Linked DNA regions of Homo sapiens: region 2 is linked to region 1. Evidence: promoter capture Hi-C in 16 types of primary human blood cells and fetal thymus (Javierre and others, 2016). All regions are on one chromosome and are shown on one strand. Each heading gives the region's core, a stretch centred on a gene start or on the middle of the fragment in contact. The rest is flanking DNA. Distances are from core to core; before and after follow the strand shown. Region 1 holds the start of TSPAN1 (tetraspanin 1). Region 2 holds the start of FAAH (fatty acid amide hydrolase).

The links. Contacts are between HindIII fragments. The CHiCAGO score rates a contact against its expected background, and 5 or more counts as called.
Region 2: a contact is called between the fragment with the promoter of FAAH here and the fragment with the promoter of TSPAN1 in region 1, in 3 of 17 cell types (neutrophils, total B cells and non-activated CD4 T cells). The highest score is 8.5, in neutrophils.

What each region holds. Positions count from the first base shown.
Region 1 is chr1:46,172,241-46,178,548 of GRCh38, forward strand. TSPAN1 (tetraspanin 1) reads left to right here and starts at 2,847. Exons shown (of 9, transcript NM_005727.4): 1 at 2,847-3,169. It overlaps P3R3URF-PIK3R3 (P3R3URF-PIK3R3 readthrough), which reads right to left and starts at 4,248. Exons shown (of 10, transcript NM_001303427.2): 1 at 3,988-4,248. The coding sequence starts at 4,231. It overlaps P3R3URF (PIK3R3 upstream open reading frame), which reads right to left and starts at 4,248. Exons shown (of 2, transcript NM_001328655.2): 1 at 3,988-4,248; 2 at 3,246-3,389. The coding sequence starts at 4,231. The coding sequence ends at 3,346. It also overlaps a transcript of PIK3R3 not described here. The HindIII fragment of the contact is 4,826 bases long and covers 1-3,318 here.
Region 2 is chr1:46,390,474-46,396,781 of GRCh38, forward strand. It overlaps FAAH (fatty acid amide hydrolase), which reads left to right and starts at 3,844. Exons shown (of 15, transcript NM_001441.3): 1 at 3,844-4,070. The coding sequence starts at 3,876. RefSeq lists an enhancer at 3,732-4,245. The HindIII fragment of the contact is 1,150 bases long and covers 3,617-4,766 here.

The DNA.
Region 1 (6,308 bases), core at 1,597-4,096:
GAGCTGTCCATTTCTGAGCCTCGGTTTTCTCATCTATAGATGAGGAATAGTGGCCTGCCTCCCAGGGATTGACTACAGGAAGATTTCAAAGAAAAGTGAGGTGGTAGGGGGCAAGCAGTAGCTCACGTCTGTAATCCCAACATTTTGGGAGGCTGAGGCGGGAGGATCACTTGAGCCCAAGAACTGGAGTGCAGTGGCATGATCTTGGCTGCAACCTCCACTTCCCAGGTTTAAGTAATTCTCGTGCCTCAGCCTCCTGAGTAGCTGGGAGAACCTGTTTCTACAAAAAAAATGTTTTAATTATCTAGGCGTGGTGGCCTGCACCTGTAGTACCAGCTACTTGTGGGACTGAGGTGGGAGGATAGATTGTGCCCAGGAGACTGAGGCTGCAGTGAGCTAAGGTCAGGTCACTGCACTCCAGTATGAGTGACAGAGAGAGACCCTGTCCCTAAAAACTAGGCAGGGGAAAGGGCTGAGCCAGGTGGCTCATGCCTGTAATCCCTGCACTTTGGAAGACTGAGGTAGATGGATCACTTTAGGCCAGGAGTTCAAGACCAGCCTAGCCCACATGGCAAAACCCCATCTCTACTAAAAATACAAAAATTAGCCAGGCATGGTGGCACATGCCTGTAGTCCCAGCTACTAGGGAGGCTGAGGCACGAGAATCACTTGACTCTGGGAGAAGACGGTTGCAGTGAGACAAGATTGCGCCACTGCACTCTATCCTGGGCAACAGAGCCAGGCGCTGTCTCAAAAAAAAAAGAAAAGAAAAAAGAAACAAACAAACAAAGAAAAAGGAGATATGAGTATCATGGGCCACCAATTAGTTGGATGGTGTGTTAGTGCCATGTTGGGAGCACAGCCTAGGGTGTGAGAAGGAAGCACTGCTCTGTGGAATTCTGGAGATATGGTTGTTAGGATGAAGGGTGCAAGGTAAGGGCTGTATTCCCTCTGATTTCCTCAGGTTATCTCACCTATGGGAGAAGGAAGAACAGAGAGAGGCAGAGAACATCATCGCAAACGGAGCCCCTGTTACAAGTACTCAGAGACCTCCTCACGATTTAATGAAGAGCTTGTGTAATCTGTGTAATGTGCCTCTCACTGAGCTATAATTCCTCTGGGAAAGAACTCCCACTGCCTTGCTCACTGCTGTATCTCCAGAATTTAGTACCATCCCTGGCACATAGCAGGCACTGTTGACTGACACAGAGTTGCAGATTGAAAAGCAGAAGCAGAGGCACCTTAAGGGGTGGAGACCATCTAGGTCAGCTCAGCTAACCCAGGCCCTTCCAGCCTGAGAGCCTGGTGTTCTCAGCCACCAGGGAACTCTGGCAGGGTGGGAGAGAGTGGGCTGCACCCGCTCATCCGGGAGCCACCTAAACTGAGGTGGTGGGTGCCCTCTGGCTGCTGCTGCCTCTGGGAGCCTAGATGGGGAGGAGAATTAGGAACCTGAAGGGGGAGGGGCAGTGAAGAAGCCATCATCGCAGATACAGCTAAAAATAGCTGGAAGAGATGATGTCATCTGGTTCCCACAGCTTAGCACCCCCATCATACACACACTCGAGCACAAACACACACTCTCACAGACACAGATACACACAGACACAAGTGTGGGCATGAGTGCATGCACACACACATACTACACACTCATATAGGGGAGGGAGGCTTCTGGGTCCCAGGGCCGCAGGGGCAGGGAAGTCTGGTGAGTGTGTCTGCATGCGTGTATGTCTGTGTGTGCCTGGGTTTGCATGAGTGTGAAGGCATGTGTCTGCATCTGGGTGCTTGTGTGCTTGTGTCTGGGTGCATGCATGTTTCTGTCTGTGTTCATTTAGAGGCATGCGTATGTGTTGTTACATATATCGTGTGGGGATCTATGCATTTGTGTCTGCGTATATCTGCTTATAGTATGTGCTTGCATGCATGTGTGTGGTTGTTGCAGTATGTGTCTATGAGTTCACTTATATTTACATGTCTGCATGTGTTTGTGAACTGTGTCATGTATCTTTATATGTATGGCCCCTCTTGGGCCCTTGAGCATGGCCCAAGCACCTTCTAGCTTTGACTGATGTTCAGCAACCCCCATCCCATAACCTGAGGAGCCCAGCACCGTCTGGGCATGGTGTGTCAGTGAATTCTCTGCCTCAACCCCCCTCAGGGTCCCAGTCTCTGGCAAGAGTTGGGGTAGATAGACATAAGCACAATTCACTTTCCCTTCACAGGCAGCAAAGGACATTAGCCACACTTCCTGAACCCCAGGGGGCCAGGCCACCAAAGGTCTCAGGGTTCACTCCCTTCCCTAGCCCCTTGGGAAGGTAGCCTGGAAATGCAGCCAGATCTCGGACCGGTGCAACACGTATTAGCCCATGCATGATGCAACATATTCGAGACAGAGTCCTACAAAATGTTCCCAGCGACTAAGACACAACCCCACAGAAACCCGGTTACAGCCAGTGACACATGAGCACACACTCAGAAATCCAAATGGAAAATCCCCAGGCCAGAGAGCTTAGCACCCTCCCTACTTTCTGGGCTCAAACTCAGTCTTGCCCCACCCCTAAGCACCCCAGCTCAGCTGCCAGTTCTGGAAAACACTGACCTCAGAGAATGGTTGAAGGGCCGAAGGTAGTATGCCTTTCTCAGAATCTCACCCTTCTCCATGTTCTCCTCCTTTAGGCTGTTCCCCATCCCCCTCCTGACCTTCACTTTTCTTACCAGGGCTGATGTCCTCTCCGGCACACCCATACCCTCACAAACGCTCCTTGACACTCACAGTCAGTCACAGAGGCACATTAAATCACAAAGGCACATTCAGCCACATCTACTGATACTCCTATTCTCCCGGCCTCAGACACACACACCAGCAGCTACACCTACACGCTGACCATCACAGGCACACAGAGGCACATCCACCTCACATCCACCTCATACTTGTGTACTCTCAGGGTTCAGTCTTTCATCCTATCCCTCTCTGATCTGTGCCTCCCAATACCTTCCAAGATGTTTACAGAGACCCTTCTCCCTGTGCAGTTAGGAGTGTAAGGCAAGAGAGCCCCTACTTCATGGGGCAGATCAAGAGCTGAGACCAAAGATGGTCTATGTTGCTGACCTTGTCCTGTCCTCCTGCTGTCTTAAACTATGATCCCTGCTGCGGTCACTGAAGCCTTTCCCTGTAAGTATTCAGCCATAACCCTCCCCTCACGCCCTGCATAGTCAGCTGGTTAACACCTCTGTGTGGAATAAGGCAGTTTGAGCAGAATGACTGTATTTGTTGTTCACCACCCACACGGCCCCTAGGAGATGCAGGTCCAGGGCAAACCAAGCTTCTGGGCTAGCTTCTGGGCACTTCTAGAGGATCAGAAAAATCCCAGGTTGCCTGAGATGTCTGAGAACTGAGGAGAGGAAGGAGAGGGAAGAGTTTGAGGAAGGAAGCAGTTCTGGAAGTTCCCTGCCTCTTGGATTCAGCCCCTCCCCAAACCCTCTGCTTCCAGCCAATCCATCCTCCATTAAGGCTGTCAGCACTTTGGGGTGCCTGCCATCAGGAGTCCCCCATATATGTAGGGGTGCTATTTCACAGAGATCATCCTTTGGCGTGCCTAAACAGAACCAGGTAGGGAAATCTTCACTGGCTCTGGTTTTTTTTTTTTTTTCTTGAGACAGAGTCTAGCTCTGTCACCCAGGCTGGAGTGCAGTGGCGCGATCTTGGCTCACTGCAACCTCTGCCTCCCGGGTTCAAGCAATTCTCCTGCCTCAGCCTCCCAAGTAGCTGGGACTAAAGGCGTGTGCCACCACGCCCGGCTAATTTTTTTTTGTATTTTTAGTAGAGATGGGATTTCACCGTGTTAGCCAGGATGGTCTCGATCTCCTGACCTTGTGATCTGCCCGCCTTGGCCTCCCAAAGTGCCGGGATTACAGGCATGAGCCACCGCACCCAGCCTAGTGGCTCTGTTTTTTAAAACCCCACCCTGGCTCACAGGCCCCCTGGCTAACCTTGAGGTGGGAAGATCCACACTATGGTGGTGTCAGTGTGGGTGTTGTTGATACCCATGGCCCTGGTGGCAGGATTGATGGCTGCACTGCTGGCAGTTCGACCTCGGAGACCCTGTTGATATCTTCTGCGGCTACACTTGAACATCCTGGGAAATCGGGGCCTGGGCCAGCCCATACCTGGCCTGCGGTAGGGGGAACGCATGCCCTGGGGCCGAGGGCCACGGACAAGCCGAGATGGCCCCATGGGCACAGGGAGCTTCTGCAGTGTGCCTGGGGGGTGCTGTTGGCCAGGGTAGCTGAGGCCTCTATGACATACAAAGTCTGCATAAGGGCAGGGCCCTTTATTACAAGTCGTGGGCCCTGGCCCCTCCTCATGGGTCAGGCTCCTTCACAATCTTCTTTATTGGGTCTGGCCTAAAAGCCAGCCCAAGAGCCAGACAGCCTCAGTTTGGCCCCTTGGGAAAAGAGGCCCTAGAGGCGGAACTCACTTCCTCACTTTCTCACTTATCCATATAGTAACAATATTAACAATGTTTTTTGAGCACTTACTACGTGCCAGACACTGTGCTGAGCACTTTACCAACGTTATCTCATTTAATCTCAGCTACTTTACAAGGATATGCCATCATTATACCTATTTATATACAGTCAATTCTCATTATTCCCAGTAATGTTCTATAAAGTCGCCACAAACACTAAATACTGAACAAAGGGTAAATGCAAGGTTAGGTTCCTGAAACCCTCTGGTCACAATATTTTTGTCAACTGATCTATACATATAACCTGATTTTATGTGTGGAGACACCTTATTTAATATATATTGTTGGCCAGGCATGGTGGCTCAAGCCTGTAATCCCAGCACTTTGGGAGGCCGAGGTGGGCAGATCACCTGAGGTCAGGAGTTCAAGACTAGCCTGGTTAACATGGCAAAACCCCATCTCTACTAAAAATACAAAAATTAGCTGGGTGTGGTGGTGGGTGCCTGTAGTCCCAGCTACTCAGGAGGCTGAGACAGGAGAATAGCTTGAACCCAGGAGGTGGAGATTGCAGTGAGCCCAGATTGCACCATTGCACTCCAGCCTGGGCAACAAGAGTGAAACTCTGTCTCAAAAAAAAAAAAAATATATCTATCTATCTATCTATCTATCTATCTAACTATCTATCTATATTTGAGTCATTGACATTGAACTCACAGCCAACAGCATTATAACTTGTGCCTGAATGAAACTTATCTAAAGCACATATTTCCCCTATAAGGCACATCACAGCCTTCTTGCACTTAGAAAGACTAGAGAGCACTTCAGCACTACAACTGGGGACCATTTTAGACAGTAAAATCACCAGCAAAAAACACCAAAAAATGTGAGAATATGCGTCACTAAATAGACCACCAAAAAGCACATTTGTTTACTCTATGAAAACTGAAATAAGAAGACAGAGAGTCCTCTTGCTCAACAGACCTCAGCTGGAAATACGTGTGTTGGACGGCTGAAATTTTTTGCCTTTCTGCTCATGTCCATGAATGACTGCAAAAGTACCACAAGTACTGGTTTGGGAATTACAAATAAATTTCAGTAAGCAGGCAAATTCACAGGTATGGAATCTGTGAATAAGGAGGATCCACTGTATAAGGAAACTGGGGCTCAGTGAGGTGAAGTCACACAATTAGAGGCAGGCAGGAAGCAAATCCATGATGATCAAGATCCAAAACCCAGAGCACTTAACTCTCATTATTCTGCACTCATTCACTCAGGAAATGTTCACTGACAACTTCTTATGTGCCAAGCACCAGGGCCATAGATGAATGTAATCTGGTCCCAATTCTTCCTGAGAATGAAACAGAAAGGTTCCAGGTGCGGTGGCTCACGCCTGTAATCCCAGCACTTTGGGAGCCCGAGGTGGGTGGATGACTTGAGGTCAGGAGCTCGAGAGCAGCCTGGTCAACATGGTGAAACCCTGTCTCTACTAAAAATACAAAAATTAGCTGGGTGTGGTGGTGTGCACCTATAATACCAGCTACTCAGGAGGCTGAGGCAGGAGAATCGCTTGAAACTGGGAGGCGGAGGTTGCAGTGAGCCAAGATTGCGCCACTGCATTCCAGCCTGGGCAACAGAGTGAGATTCTGTCAAAAAAAAAAAAAATAGACCTTCTCCTTCTCCTTCCACTCCTCAGTCCCTTCTTCCTTTCCCCCTTACTCTGCTCCTCAAATGCCCCCTTCCCAACTTCATCCTCCTTTCTGTTTGTGGAGGACTCTGTGGCACCCTTAGTACCACCCTCACAAACCTCATCTTTCCCCCATCCCCTCCTCCAGCCTCTACTCT
Region 2 (6,308 bases), core at 2,594-5,093, 220 kb after region 1:
TCTAGGGCTTCCTGTAGGACATAAATCACACTTTTTACATAATTGCGAGTTGTCTCTTAATGAAAAGAAAGTTTGTACATATGGCACTTCATTCCATTTGCCTTCTTCTCTACAAAAGAGGTCTCACTGTAAGATGGTGTTATAATTTATATTTCCCTCAGGAGGCCAGGTTTCTCCCCCTTGAAGAGGATATCATGGCCAGGTGGTACTGCAGAAGAATATAAGTCATTTCTTTCTTAGCGTCTGAGGGTCAAATTGGTCCCAAATCTCCAGAATACATCTTAGGGGCGTTTTTGCCTTGTGGGGAACGTTTCCCATTGCTTTGGAGGTCCCTTCGTGGTCGCCAAATGTTACTGGGGGGTCCTTGCTCCCAGAGCTCCCAAGATGGTGGCGGGCCGCTTCCAAGATGGTGGCAAGCCTGGTGTTCTCTGACCTGGGGTTCTTGGCCTCACGAATTCCAAGGAATGGAATCTTGGGCCATGCGGTGAGTTTTATAGCTCTATTAGAAGCCGTGGGTCATGGAAGAGAACTGTGGAACCCAGTGACTAGTGTTCAGCTTGATTAGGATGAACCTGGGCACTTAGCCGTGCAGGAACAATGGCAAACCTTTAGCCTGATTGGGAGCGGCAATGGGCGCCTCGCTGGATCAGGAGCACAGTAGACACCCTGCCGGATCCAGAGGGATGGAAGTCGGCGGCGGGTCTGCGATGGCAGCAAACAGCAGTGGATGTCGAGCGAAAGCTCAGCTCCAGCCATAGCAAACACGGACCAGAAGAGAGTGCAGTTGCAAGATTTAATAGAGTGAAAACAGAGCTCCCATACAAAGGGAGGGGACCCAAAGAGGGTAGCCATTTTTTCACTTTTTTTTTTTAACTTTTGTTGAAAACATTTTAAGTTTGGAATTTCAACTATTCTTTGCTATTAATAAGACCTCATTCAGTCCATATTAACTTAGAATTGGTATAGATGGGTCCTTCCTGATTCTGTAAGTGCTTTAAGGCTTGGCTGAGTGCAAACAGCTCTCACATTTGAACAGGCCAATTATTAGGCAATTTTCCTAACTCTGCTTCTACAAGAGTTTCCTTATCACTTACTGAATACCCATTGTGTCTTTTTCCCTCAATTACCCAGGAGGAACCATCTATCATCCTGTCCTGAAGGGAGTTCTTCCTAGGTCTGGTCGGACCTTTGTATGGTAATTAATTAAGATTTAGATCCCATGTTAGGAAACCTGCTGGGTTAAGGGAATTTTCAGTGGTTAATATTAAATCATTTTTTTCTAACAGAACAGCCTCATACTTTAAGGTTCTTGAGTCAGTAAGCTACCTTTTTTTTTTTTTGACTTAGGATAGTTCTGACCTGATGAGGTGTGCTCACAATGAGGTTTCCTCTAAAAGTTGTTTTTCTACTTTCTTCTGTTAGCAAAGCAGTTGCTGCTACAGATTGAATGCATTTGGGCCATCTGCCGGTTACTGGGTTAAGGAGTTTTGATTAGGGAGGTTACGGGTTGTCAGTGGCCTCAGTGCTTTTGGGCTACATCCTTGTTTACACTGACAACAAGGTGGTATTGGAGTGTTATAGGGTCATGGAGAAGACCTTCAATTATCAATTACAGGTTTTGAATTTTATCCTGGCTTTTAAAGGAATAGGGTACACTGTTTTCTCTTTACTACTTCTATCTCTCTTTCTCTCTCTCTCTCTTTGACTCTCTCTCTCTTTCCCTGTCTCTGACTCCCTCTCTCTCTCTCTTTTTCTTTTGAGACAGAGTCTAGCTCTATCACCCAGGCTGGAGTGCAGTGGCGCGATCTCGGCTCACTGCAAGCTCCGCCTCCCAGGTTCACGCCATTCTCCTGCCTCAGCCTCCTGAGTAGCTGGGACTACAGGCGCCCGCCACCACGCCTGGCTAATTTTTTTGTATTTTTAGTAGAGATGGGGTTTCACGGTGTTAGCCAGGATGGTCTTGATCTCCTGACCTCGTGATCCACCGGCCTTGGCCTCCCAAAGTGCTGGGATTACAGGCATGAGCCACCACGCCTGGCTTCTGTCTTTCTGTCTCTTTCTCTCTCTGCCTCTCTTTCTCTCTCTTTGCCTCTCTCTTTCTCTCCAACTTCCTCTCCCAGTTTCTCTTTCCTCTCTGCTGGTCTTTCCCTGCCTCTGCCAGCTGCTTATGCTGCTGTTCTCCCCTCTCCTTCCCCTTCCCCTAGGGAAGGGACCGTCAGGAGTGCAGCTACTTTTTCTTCCCCGAGAAGAAAGGAAAGGGGAATTCTGAATATTTTTCTTACTACCGGAGGTTTGTGTGAGGTTTTTGATCCCCTGAAATTTGTGGAAGGCTCAACACCTCAAACCAGGGGGTATCTTGCCTTGCCTGACCTGGAAGGCTCAACCCCTCAAACCAGGGGGTGTTTTGCCTTGCTGCCCTGGAAGGCTCAATCCCTCAAACTAGGAGGTGTCTTGCCTTGCTTCCCTGGAAGGTTGACCTGTTTCCTCCCTTTCCCCCTCTGAAGGTCCTTTGCACACTTCCCACTCGTGTTGTCCTCTCTGGCTGCTCCCCCAAGGGAGAATTAGGCCCCCCTCAGCATTGGCATTCCAGTAGAAATCCCACCGCAGGATCCTCCCTAAGCCATATGAGGTAGCTACGGAAACGTGGAGAGGACCCACTCACTCCGTCCAGCAGTAGGACTTGTCATCATCCACACGAACAACACCACAGGTAGGGTTGTTTGTGATCATTCACGCACACACACATTTAGCCCTCCAGAATTTGACCACCAAGGAAGTACCTTACCGGCTCCCTCGGCTTCTTCCTTTGTCTGTGCACAGAGTTGTCTCTGCAGTGTGTGAGGATGCTTTACCCTAGGTTGCCTGCTGGTTTCTTTTCACATTGCTGAGAGCTCAGGTTATTTCTTGCACTGGGTGAGTCCTGATTTCTCACCCCTGAGGCCATCACAAGAGGGTGGGGCATACCTCCTCAGGAGAGAGAACCAGAGACTGCCCCTGAAGGGGAATGTAATCACGAGCAAGCCCCCAAATTGTTATAAATAAAGTTTCCCCCCAGTGCCGCAAAAGAAATAGCACTCGAATATAAAATTTTCTTTTTTTTCTTCTCAGCAAGGCAATTTACTTCTATAGAAGGGTGCGCCCTCACAGACGGAGCAAAGGTGAGCGCACACCTGGACAAGGGAGGGGAAGGTGGTTCTTATGCCTGACCCACGTGATTCCTGATGCTGTGTCCTTCCCCTGTTGGCTAGGGTTAGACCTATAGGCTAAACTAATTCCGATTGGCTAATTTAAAGACAGTGAGGGGGTGAGTGGTTTGGCGGGAAAAATGGTTACCGCAGAGCAGGAAATCGGAATGAACCACGGTGAAGAATGAGTGAGGGAGGAGCAGGTAATCGAAAAATGTTGCTTTATGAGGAAGTTAAGTTTAAAAGTAGAAGGCAAAGAATTGAAGATACTGACATATTGATTCTTTTAAGATAAATTTAGAACTCATATCTAACAGCTGGCATGTCTGGCATGGGGCTCCGGCTGGGGCGCAGTCTTCAGCATTTGGGGCTCTGGGGTGCAGGGGGCAGAGGACGGCCGGGGCTGTGGTGCCCAACCGGTGCTAAACTCAAGCTTGGGAGGTCGCCCACGAGAAACAGTCGCCCTTCCCCACCCGCCTGCTCGGCTTGGCGGGGAGCGGGATGTCGCTGGGGGCGATGCCAGGCGGGCCGCCTCTGATAGCCTCTAGGCTCTGGCGCGCTTCCCCGCCCCTCCCGCGCAGGCGGGCGTGGGATCCCGGCTGATCCAGTCCGGGTTTTGCGGCGGAGCGGGCGGGCTGCGCGTGCGGCGGCTTCAACTGTCGCGGTAGGCAGCAGCAGGCTGAAGGGATCATGGTGCAGTACGAGCTGTGGGCCGCGCTGCCTGGCGCCTCCGGGGTCGCCCTGGCCTGCTGCTTCGTGGCGGCGGCCGTGGCCCTGCGCTGGTCCGGGCGCCGGACGGCGCGGGGCGCGGTGGTCCGGGCGCGACAGAGGCAGCGAGCGGGCCTGGAGAACATGGACAGGGCGGCGCAGCGCTTCCGGCTCCAGGTGACTGCCGGAGCGTAGTGGGATGGGCGCGGCCTGAGGGTACTCGCAGCGGCACTTTCAGCCGCCGGACCCGCCGAGGGACAGGGGATGGGGCGGGCAGAGCAGATGTGTAACTCTCCAGAATCTCTCCTTGCCCTAAGATATTCCGCACTTTCTGAGCCAGGTAGAGCACGGGGGAAGAAAGGAAACGGTAGTGTCAAGGCAGGTGGTGGAAGGCCTTTCCCTCACTGGGTCAAAGAGGAGTTTTGCTTTGTGCCAAAGAATCTCACGATTGCTGCCTATTGGAATGCGAAAACGCAAGCGTGACAACCAGTGGGATGCCAGGGGTTGAGGACTTTGGAATCGCAGAGTGTAATGGCCAAGGGGATCTGGAGAGCTTAGAGTTTTGTTTTTTGTTTTTTTTTGTTTTGTTTTGAGACGGAGTCTCGCTCTGACTCCCAGGCAAGAGTGCAGTGGTGCGATCTCGGCTCACTGCAACCTCCGCCTCCCGGGTGCAAGCGATTCTTGCTGCCTCAGCATCCCCAGTAGCTGGGATTACAGGGGCCCGCCACTACGCCTGGCTAATTTTTGCATTTTTAGTAGAGACTGGGTTTCACCATGTTGGCCAGGCTGATCTCAAACGCCTGACCTCAGTTGATACACCTGCCTCGGCCTCCCAAAGTGCTGGGCGTGAGCCACCGCGCCTGGCTGAGTTCAAGCTTCTTGATTTGTGCATTTGGATCCTAAGAGGGAGCCAGAAAGAAACCTGCCAAGTGCACAGGGAGATCTTGGCAAAGCCAGGCTAGAAGGGAAGTCTCTCTGGCTCCTGCTGTGGTGTCCAACCCCTGGCAAGCCCTTTCCATGAGCAGGTTTAGTTCCAGCCCTCCGTGGGTGGTCTGTCAACAAGCTTTTCTCCCTGCGCTGCCTTTGGATCACCTCAGTATGTGGGTTTGGAGGCGTGGAAGGGCCTGGCTGAGGGTTTGGAAGATGTGGCTTGAAGAGGGGCTTTTCCTCTGGGTGTGTGAAACACTGACCCCAGTTAAAGCCTTCTTATGTGCTGAGAGAGGGAGGGCTTGCTGTATCTGTGGGACCTGACAGGTGGGAAGGCTTTACAGGTTGGGAACCGCAGGACTCAGGAGGGTGTGCCTGGGTGGGAGACAGAAAGAGTCACAGAAAATTGTGTTCAGCAGATGTTCCGCAAGTGATTTTTGAGTTGGGGCAGAGCTGGAACTAGAACCTAGGTGCCCGCTGCACTCTGCAGCCACACTTTCGTGGAGAGGAACAGGAGAGAGATATGAGGAAGGCACCTTGCATGCCAGCCCAGGGTGTAGCCCTGCATGTTGAAGGGGGCCAGCCCCTCCACACCTGTGGGTATTTCTCCTCAGGTGGGACAAGAGACTGAGAAAAGAAATAAGACACAGAGACAAAGTATAGAGAAAGAACAGTGGGCCCAGGGGACCACCGCTCAGTATAGGGAGGACCCGCGCCAGCACTGGTCTCTGAGTTCCGTCAGTATTTATTGATCACTATCTCTACCATCTCGGTGAGGGGGATGTGGCAGGACTATAGGGTAATGGTGGGGAAAGGGTCAACAGGAAAACATGTGAGCAAAGGACTCTGTGTCATAAGTTTAAGGAAAGGTGCTGTGCCTTGATGTGTATGTAGGCCAGATTTATGTTTGACTTTATACAAGCATCTCAGTGCAGTAAACAACAGTATTGTCACCAGCATGTCTCACCTCCAGCCATAAGGTGGTTTTCTCCTATCTCAGTAAATAGAACGTAGGATCGGGTTTTACACTGACACATTCCATTCCCAGGGACGAGCAGGAGATAGATGCCTTCCTCTTATCTCAACTGCAAAGAGGCCTTCCTCTTTCACTGATCCTCCTCAGCACAGACCCTTTACGGGTATCGGGCTGAGGTATGGTCAGGTCTTTCCCTTCCCACAAGGCCGTATCTCAGGCTGTCTCAGTGGGGAGAAACCTTGGAGAATACCCAGGCTTTCTTGGGCAGAGGTGCCTGCAGCCTTCCGCAGTGCATTGTGCCCCTGGGTACTCAAGACGGGAGAATGGCGATGACTTTTTGCCAAGCATACTGCCTGCAAACACATTTTTAACAAAGCACATCCTGCACAGCCCTAATTAAACCTTGAGTCAACACAGCACATGTTTCTGCGAGCATAGGGTTGGGGCTAGGTTTACAGATTACCAGCATCTCAAGGCAGAAGAATTTCTCTTAGTACAGAACAAAATGGAAT